Linked DNA regions of Homo sapiens: regions 2 and 3 are each linked to region 1. Evidence: promoter capture Hi-C in 16 types of primary human blood cells and fetal thymus (Javierre and others, 2016). All regions are on one chromosome and are shown on one strand. Each heading gives the region's core, a stretch centred on a gene start or on the middle of the fragment in contact. The rest is flanking DNA. Distances are from core to core; before and after follow the strand shown.

What was found. Contacts are between HindIII fragments. The CHiCAGO score rates a contact against its expected background, and 5 or more counts as called.
Region 2: a contact is called between the fragment with the promoter of DEFB119 here and the fragment with the promoter of DEFB123 in region 1, in 2 of 17 cell types (M1 macrophages and naive CD8 T cells). The highest score is 6.3, in M1 macrophages.
Region 3: a fragment that was not itself captured here is called in contact with the fragment with the promoter of DEFB123 in region 1 in 1 of 17 cell types (M1 macrophages); the score reaches 5.7 in M1 macrophages.

The regions. Positions count from the first base shown.
Region 1 is chr20:31,439,100-31,442,262 of GRCh38, forward strand. It overlaps DEFB123 (defensin beta 123), which reads left to right and starts at 1,533. Exons shown (of 2, transcript NM_153324.4): 1 at 1,533-1,657. The coding sequence starts at 1,600. The HindIII fragment of the contact is 4,618 bases long and covers 1-1,993 here.
Region 2 is chr20:31,389,003-31,392,165 of GRCh38, forward strand. It overlaps DEFB119 (defensin beta 119), which reads right to left and starts at 1,588. Exons shown (of 2, transcript NM_153289.4): 1 at 1,421-1,588. The coding sequence starts at 1,481. The HindIII fragment of the contact is 16,203 bases long and covers 1-3,163 here.
Region 3 is chr20:31,484,523-31,487,685 of GRCh38, forward strand. REM1 (RRAD and GEM like GTPase 1) reads left to right here. Exons shown (of 5, transcript NM_014012.6): 5 at 1-373. It overlaps LINC00028 (long intergenic non-protein coding RNA 28), which reads left to right and starts at 1,256. Exons shown (of 4, transcript NR_024358.1): 1 at 1,256-1,501; 2 at 2,510-2,673; 3 at 2,760-2,837; 4 at 2,954-3,052. The HindIII fragment of the contact is 5,037 bases long and covers 1-3,163 here.

The DNA of each region.
Region 1 (3,163 bases), core at 283-2,782:
TGATCCCTACTGCACATCTGCCCCAAATCCTTAATTGAAGAGATTGAGACCCAGAAAAAAAAAAAAAGTAATTCTTCCAAGGTCACATAGAAAGCTAGTAGCAGTGTCAGGACTAGTTACCCAATATTTTCAACTCTGCTGTCACTCTCAATACAAAAATCCTCCATATATCCTGGCATTTCAGGCAGTGGGAAAATCTCTTCTTTTAGGGAGAAAAGAATCCAACAGATACATTATTTCTCCAGGCCTGGGCAACAGAGCAAGACCCTGTATCCAAAACAACAACAAAAACAAAAAGATAAAAAATAGTTTTTAAAATTAAGAAAAAAAAAGAAATGAAATGAGCCTCCTTACCAAAAATGAACAGCACAGGAAAGGTGGACTTCCAGGCTTTCCACTGAGTCCCTTCCTAGCCAGTGTCTCTTCTTCTCTTCATTGTAAGGGTTTTAGAAAGAATTATTTACACTTGCTGACCTCACTGTTTCACTTACCTTTCAGTTTTCAACCCCATTGACTGTTTTCTGCCCCTACAGAAATGGCTTTCACTGTTGTTGTTGTTGTTGTTGTTTTTCCCTTGTAATCCCTCTGTATGCTATTATACCCTTGACATCTGTTTCAAGCAGGGTCCAGTCAGAGAAACAGTAACTACAGGATGCAGCTACCACCCGAGGGCTGAGGGAACTAAAGGAAAGAGATGCCTTTTCTTTTCTTTTCTGAGACAGAGTCTTGCTCTGTCGCCCAGTCGGGAGTGCAGTGGCGCGATCTCGGCTCACCACAGCCTCCCCAGGTTCAAGCGATTATCTTGCCTCAGCCTCCCAAGTAGCTGGGATTATAGGCATGCACCACCACACCTGGCTACTTTTTGTATTTGTAGTAGAGATGGGGTTTCACCATGTTGGCCAGGCTGGTCTCGAACTCCTGACCTCAAGTGATCCACCCACCTTGGCCTCCCAAACTGCTGGGATTACAGGCGTGAGCCACCGTGCCCGGCCAAGAATGAGTTTTCAAAACCCGAGTTCAGAAGAAGGATTCTGAGTGGTTGGTTCTCAGATCTCTGAGGAAGCGGAAGGATGACCCTAGGGGGAGGGCCACCGCATGTTAGAACCCAGCAGGGGGCTGTGACAGACAGGCTGGTGCTCGGAGCTTCATCTCTTTCTGCCGTTTTCCTCTCAGTTTTTGCTCTGGTTATGTCATATTTCTCATTTTCAACACCAACATGAGCCTTTGTACAGACATTCCTCCACCTGGAACCCCATTTCAGCTCATCTACCTGTTGCTTTGTATTTATTCTTCAAAACTCTGCCGTCTTCCCTGACCTTCCGGAGCCGGTGTTTGTGGCGCCTCCTGCTGGTCACTGGGTTCAGGCAGTTTGGAGCTGGGTGGAAGGAACGGGTAGTATATTAAGTCTTGGGCCCTGGACCTTGTTGGCTGTCCTCTCCCTGCTGACCTAAATGACAAAGGGAGGGGTGTCCAGTCAGAGTGTGAGGGCTGTACCCGTGGGCAGCTGAGGGAGTGCGAGCCACAGGCCAGGCACTCTCCTTCTCCCATTAGCTCAGCCGTGGCATCGGACTTGCAGCTTCATTTTGGGCTGCCTTAGCCATGAAGCTCCTTTTGCTGACTTTGACTGTGCTGCTGCTCTTATCCCAGCTGACTCCAGGTAACCTGAACCTCCTTAAGGAAGGGGCAGGGCTTAGAGACTAAGGCCTGGTCAGAGAATCCCAAGGGCTAGAAGGATGGGCTGCAGGTTGTCATCTAGCACCACGTATAGGAGGCAGGAGGCGCCTCACCAGCAGCAGGTGCCAGCTGATAGATGACAACTACAACATCCAGAGCTGCTCTCTCAGCGGCTCCATCCCTCCTCTTCCTGCCCAGCTCCAGGGAGCATGTGGGGGTGGCCTAGTGTGTGAGGAGGAGTGGGAGGGGTGAGCAAGAGAAGCAGGAAAGAGGAGAGGCAGGTATGGCCCTTTTGCAAAATAGTCCCCAGAATGAACGAAGCTTTGTGAAGATCACAGCTACCTTAATGGGAGAGAAAGCTCATTTGTACTTAGCTGTCTCTGTGCCAGACTCTGCGCTGGAAGCTAGGACCACGGAGATAAATGACATGGTGCCAGGGGAACTAACTGGAGGAGACAGTTAAATAGCATTTATAACCCAGGGTGACACGGCTGTGGCAGTGGGAAACCAGGGGGCTGGGTACACATGGTCCAGCCCAGGCTGAGGGAAAGGAGAGTCCTCCTGGAGGGATATCCTGAGTCCTAAAAAGTGAGTCGAAAATAGAAAAGGAAGGAGAGGGGAAAGCAGAAGGGTGTCCCAGGCAGAGAGGTCAGCCTATGCAAAGGTTGGATGCGGGAGAGAGCATGGGAGTGTCGGGGACCTGCATAACATGGAGGGGTGGGTTAGGAGAGAGGCGGGGGTAAAGCTGAGGAAGCATTCAAGCTCCAGGTCTCAGTGGGCCTCAAATGCCAGGTGAGGGACCCATGGGAAGGTTTAAACAGAGAAAGACCCTGGTCAGACCTACCACCCACCAATTCCAGCATGAGCCACCTATCCCTTCCTGCTCATCTGGCAGAAGTTTCCACCCACCCTAAGGCTGTCGGCTAACCTTTCTACAGAGTCAGAAACGTGTGAATTTCCTAAACAAGCTGACCTCCGTCCTTGTGTCTTCCTGAGGCCCTAAAACACCACTCACCTGGAGTAGGGAGGAAAGCCCAGACCCCGGGTTAAAACCTGCCCCATCATTTTCTGACTCTGTGAGCCCCAACAAGAAGCTCAGCTGCTCAGAGTATCAATTTCCTCATTTCTCAAACTGCAATAACATCAAGTGTGTAATAATATCAGGTTGAGGGAACAACATTGAACACACTGAAATTTTGGTCTGCAAAAGAAATATGGCTTCTCTATTTTCTCTAACTCACCAAACTTTCCCAGGAACTTCCATCCTGACTGTGGGAGTTAGTGGTGGGAGGAGCAGGACTACAGAGATAAATGACATGGCACCAGGGGAGCAAACTAGGGGAGACAGTTAAATAGCACTTACAACCCAGGGTGACAAGGCACATAGGGGCTGGGCCTGAACTCAGCAGTTCAATATTTGTCTTTTCTGTTTTAAAATGATTTCTAAGCTAATTCAATCTCTTTTGAATAAGTGTTGAGTCTTTCAGCA
Region 2 (3,163 bases), core at 338-2,837, 50 kb before region 1:
GCAACCTGAAACAAAGTCATTTCTATCTATTAGTTATATTTGTCTTCATTTTTGGAGCTGTTGTGGACATCTGAGGAGTGGTCCAGCCAAGGATTCCATGAATTGTTACTGGTTGGATTGTTAAATAACGACTAGGAACACAGCACCGTTTACGATTTCGGCAGCGTATGATGCTGTCTTCACCATCTTTGCACAACAACCGGCAGTGTCCATCCATCCAACACTCTACTTTGGGGCATATGAACAACAATTAAGCAGATGTTAGTATCCCTCAAGCGGAGAGAAAAGACAAGGCAGAGGAGGAACAGGAGGACAGGGAAGAAGAGAAGAAAGCCAGCTGAGTGAGTAATGCCAGACCCAGTCCCAGGAAAAGAGAGAAGAGACCTTGAGAGGGAAGAGAACTGAGACAATGGTTCCAACTGAGAGCTCCGAAGTTTTTGGGAGAGCCTTTTTTGGACTTCTCACCCTTCTGTCTTCCTAGCCCCCAACTTCCTACTCCTTACTTTGGAATCAACTGAAGCTAATTAATGTCCCACCTAGCAGAGCTAGGGATGAAGGGAAAAGGACATGATCACCTGTAATATTAGGGAACGAAGAGGATTCACTCACATTACACAGACCCTGTTTCTTATCAATAACCTGACCCTATTTCACATAAGCCCAACAAGCCTCAGCTCCAGCCGCATCCCAATCTGCAATCTTCCTTGACCCTATATTAACCCAATTCAAACTCAAACTCATTCAGGCCTGCCTTAATTAGAACTCCCAGCCTTACTCAACTCAATGCCCCCAAGCCCCAACTCCAAGCCAAACCCTAATCTAATCTAATCTAACCCTAATCTAATCAAGTCACTAACCTCAATTCCCAGCAGTATGCCATGACCAAGCTGAACCCAATCACCCTGCAGCATCCAGCACCGACTCCCAGCCTCAGCCCAAGCCCCAGCCTAATCCTCAACACCAGCTCCACTCAACCCCAAATCCCATCCTGTCTCCAACTCTGCCCTAAACCATCAGGGAAGCCCAGCTCCTCACCTCCAGCTCATCCTAATATTCCTTCTATCACTCCAATCCCAAGGTTTTTCCTCCACATCACAACTCACCCCAGCTTCCACTCTAGTCTCCCGAAGTCCTCAACAAGTCCCCAACCTGCACCCACGCTTTGCCCCTCAAACCTCTCCCAAGCTCCCACCAGGATACCACCCTGGCCCTCAAGCACCAGATGCTCCAAACATCTATCATCCCACCACTCTGGCAAAAAAGAATCAGAGAGAGATATTAACTTGAGATGATCCTGGGCAAACCTCCCGAAGCTGCAGGAGAGAAGGAAAGGCTTCAGATGATGCCCACAGTGAGAGGGAAGGGAAAGACGGGAAGCCCATGACCAGGAACCCAGACCCCCGAGAGAGGTTCACGTTACCTGATATCACTGGTTCTTCTATGGCCAGAAGGATGGCAAGAAACAGGTAAAGAAGTTTCATGGCTGGCAGACCTGAGAGGAGGAGGTGGCTGAGCTGCAGGGGAAGGAAATAGGGTTCCCTGCAGCACGGCAGAGATGAGCTTTGCTTTTATCAGCAGGGCTGTGGGCAGTGAATTAGAACAGGAGGGGATTTATATGAGGTCATCCAGGCCAAAGGACAGTGTGTAGCAGATGTCTCAGCAAAGCACAAGATGAGAGTGTGGGAAACTGGCCAGTACCAATGCCAGTAAAGGGACAGGTCAATTAAAGCCATTTGGCCTGTGAGACCCACAAAGGAATTAATTAATGCATAATAAATACATATCAAGAAATATTTAACTTAAAAATTACTTTGCACTTCTCTGATAAATAGTAAGAACATTTATTCAACACATGTATTTGTCTCTTTGTTTCTTCCTTTTGAATTATTTAGTCAGATATCTGGACAATTCTATTGGGGTGTTGTTGGGTACTTGCTGATTTGCAAGAGCTCTTCAGTGCTGTTATTATATTAACTGTCTTGTCATGTTTGGTGACAATATTGTTCTCCATGATTATGTTCTGTTTTAAAATATATTTTTTCCTATAAATGTTTAAAAGATATTTAAATCTTAAAAACTAAATTAAACAGGCCAGGTGTGGTGGCTCACACCTGTAATCCCAGCACTTTGGGAGGCGAAGACAGGGAGATCACAAGGTCAGGAGTTCGAGACCAGCCTGGCCAACATGGTGAAACCCCGTCTCTACTAAAAATACAAAAATTAGCCAGGTGCCTGTAATCCCAGCTACTAGGGAGGTTGAGGCAGGAGAATTGCTTGAACCTGGGAGGCAGAGGTTGCAGTGAGCTGAGATCACGCTATTGCACTCCAGCCTAGGTGACAGAGCAAAACTCCATCTCGAAAATAAAAATAAAAAAATTTTAAAAAATAAATTAAACGAGAATTACTTATTCTCAGCTTTCTAACAGAAGGATACACATGTGTCTCAGCTTTCTAACAGAAGGATACACATGTGTAATGTCTTTCAGAACTTTGAACTTGCCAATCTTGTTTCCAGTTCAGGGCCTTAGCAGTTGTCATCTGTTCTCCCTGTAAAGCTCTTTCTCCAAATCTTCCCATGAAAATCTCCTGCTCATCATTCCATATCATCCCAAATGTCACCTCCTTGGAGAGACTTTCCCTGGCCACCTTAGATAACGGTAACTCCAACCCACAGTCACTCTGGACTGTAATAACTTGGTTTATGATCTTCATATATGTATCTATTCTTTTAAATTTTATTTTACATGTTTGATTTTTGTCTCTCCACTTAGAATGTCAGAAACCTGGCTTATAACCCCAGTACCCATAACATCACCTGGTGTATTAAGATACTTATTCAACTGTTTTAACTGATATTCCCCCCAAATAAGAATGATTCCAAAAGACAGACATGGATTTCTTTTTTATGTAAAAGTCTGGGTATGCAGTTAAGTGTGACAGCTTCACCATTCAGCAGGGATCTAGGTTCCTTTTGGCTTGATGCTCTGCCATCCTCAAGAGGCTGCATCATGTGATGACCCTGAGCTGCTCCAGTTCCCACCGTCAAGTTCCCATCCAGCCATCAGGAAAGGAGGAGTGATGGAAGTGAAATGCAACACCTTTCCCTTTAAGGACACCACTCAGAAGTTTCACCCCTCGGCTTGGCACAGTGGCTCACACCTGT
Region 3 (3,163 bases), core at 222-2,721, 45 kb after region 1:
TCTGCATCATGGGTCTTGCTTGCCTGCTGCCCTGATGGCCTGAGCATCCCCCAGATCCAAGCCTGGGGGATCCCGGGAAAGCGATGGACAGACAGACGATGGGGCCGAAGCCCCAAGCTGGGCACAAAGTAGTTTTTTACGTGGTGGGTGTCTTTTTGTAAAAAAATCTTCCTTGTCCCTGGGCTCTGGCCAACCCTCAGAAACCCTCACAATAAACCAGACCAGAAGGATGTCCCATCTGAATGCCCAGACCTCTCCATCTCGGCTCTTCCAGGCGTCTCCACCTACTGCCCTCCCATCTACACTTGACTGTAGACTGGTCTGGCCTGCTGGCCTGGGCGTCAGGGCGCATCAATAAAGTACTTGGACCAGTTTTGTGCTCAGGCCCTTCTCTCAACAGTGGATCACAACCACAGTTCCGTGACCAGCTACTTTCTCATTAACCCATGTTTTACGTTCTAGATTCACATGTCTGGAAGGACCTCAGTACTCATCCTGGCAATAGAATTGCTGGCGTTTGTTGGGAGCTGTGTACTAAGCTGTCACAACAATTATTCCTCCCAACACCTGGGAGAAGGGTTTCCGATTAACCCCATTTTGCTCGTTAGTAAACTGAGGCAGAGGACACCGAAGGCTCACCCAAGATCATACAGCTGCTATACGCGAAGTTGCCGGGATTCCAGCCCAGGCTTGTCAGACTCTAGTGACCAACATATCCATTGTCCACTTTAAACATGATACAAAACCCTATAGAATCTTGGCAAAACGAATTTAAAAACATAATTTCGCATCCAATTTAAAGGAGGTTGGGGCAGGAGCTCTATGAAACTCAATGCATTAATCCCCGGGATGGACCCCAGTTTAATCCAACTCACTCATTTCCCGAAGGCAGAAACAAGCCTAGAGAGGGGAGGTGAGCATGCCAGAGTCACCCAGCCAGGGAGGATTACACCCCAGGGCCCAGCCTCCTCCTGGGTCTCCCTTTGGCTGTGCGGGAGGAAGGAGGTGGTGAGGCGTCCAGCCTGGCTGGGGTCAGGGCTGGGTGTTGGGGATCAGGTCAGGAGTTTCCAGCCCGAAGGGAAGGGGTGTCACTGCTTTGAGAAGAAAACAAGACGCAAACCGTTTGGACCATCGTGTCCCTGACGCCGGACATCCCTTCCCCCAACTATCCCAGACGCCCCAGCCCCGGGGGACGCGGTGCAGAGAAAGACCGCAGCACCCGCCAGCCAGCCAGCAGCGTCCTCCAGCCGCGAATCCCCGCACCCCAGCCTTCCAACGGGGATGGATGGCACTCACTCCCACACCCCAACCCCAGCCTGGGGAAGGGAAAAGAAGGAAGGTCTTCCCCCACCCCAAGCTGTCTCCGGCCTGCGGTCAGGGGGAGGGGCTCTAGCTGTGGAAAGTTGGCAGAGGCGGCCGGCAGCAGCCGGGAGAGTGGAAAAAATGATATCAAACCCGGAAAAATGCAGGCCGGATGGAGGGCCGGAGTGGGCCCTGGGAGGTGAGAGGGCGGGAGGGAAGTGGGGAGGGGGAAGAGCTGAGAAAAGAAGAGGGGCCAGGGAGACAGTGCAGGAGCTGGCTTTAGAAAACTGAGTACAATCGCCCTCATCCCCTCCTTTCTTCATCTACAAGTATTTATTGAGGGCCTACTAAGTGCCGGGCACAGTGCCAGGCTCTGGGGAGATGTGGTGAACAGAAAGAGGGAGCTCACTGCTCGGTAGCTCACAGTAGGGTGGGCTGGGAGACTAGAAAACAAATCAGCAAATAAAAGAATCACAAACTTATAAGGAGCTGAAAATTAGAGTGGTCAGGGAAGGACCTGAAGATAATCCAGTCCAATCCTCCATCCTCAGATAGGAAAACTGAGGGCGAGAGAGAGAGAGACAGAGAGAGAGAGAGAGAGAGAGAGAGAGAGAGAGAGAGAGAGAGAGAGAGAGAGAGAGCTTACCCCAGGCTACTCAGAATGTGGAAGAAATACTTGAGAACGGGATAAGGGAGGAAAGGGGGAGGGAAGAAAGAACTGGTGCAGACCAAGATGGGAAGGTGGGAGGTGTTGAGGGAAGGAGAGTTATGCAGCTAGCACGGCAAGATGGCAGGGTGATTGAGGGCACTGCCCTGAACCAGGGGGTGTGTGTTCAAACCCCGCTCCCCTCCATCTCTCCATGCCTTAGTTTCTCCATCTATAAAACAGGATTCATGACAATTCTTTCCTTTAGGGTCGATGTGAGGATTAAATGATTCAAGTTGTGTAAAATGCTTAAGACACTTTCCGTGTCTAAGAAGATTCAATAAATGTGGGCTCCCGCTAGCATATCTTCTTTTTTTAAAAAAAAAAAAAAAACAGGGTCTCACTCTGTTGCCCAGGCTGGAATGCAGTGGCGCGATCACAGCTCGCTGCAGCCTCCACCTCCCAGGCTCAAGCCATCCTCCCACCTCAGCACCCCAAGTAGCTGGGACTACAGGCACATGCCATTATGCCCAGCTAATTTTTTTTTTTTTTAATTTTTAGAGGAGACAAAGTTTTGCTGTGTTGCCCATGATGGTCTCAAACTCCTGAGCTCAAGAGATGCTCCCACCTCAACATCCCAAGGTGCTGAGATTTCAGGCATGAGCCACTGGGTCTCACCCTGCTATCATATCTTAAGGCCTTGCAGAAACCAGGATTTGTTAAAGGTAAGATATTCTGAGACTGTGAAGACCTGCTTATGAGTCTCTGCCTGGCATATGTATTCACATGTTTTTGTCTGTCTGCCCCACAGGAATGAAAGCTCCTTGAGGGAAGGGCCCTCAGTGCTGCTCTGATCCCAGCACCTACAACAGTGCCTGGCTCATAATAGGTGCTCAGTAAATATTTGTTGAATGAATTAATTCATTATCCATTAATAGATATCCATTAATTCATTATCCATTACCTGTAAAGTGGCCCTTCCAATCCTGTCCTCTCTGATTCTAGGTGTCTGTGAATAAGGAATGGAAAGCATGTGAGAAAACCACACTCTTCCTCAGCCTATTATAGTTTAAAAAGTACTTTCTCATCCATAAAAACAAAACCAAAAAAAAAAATAGCTAACTTTGTTTTAACTGTTTCTCTGTGTTAATGTTGGGCCCCATGCTACATGCTGGGTACACATTTTCTCATGTCCTCACCACCACAACCCTCTAC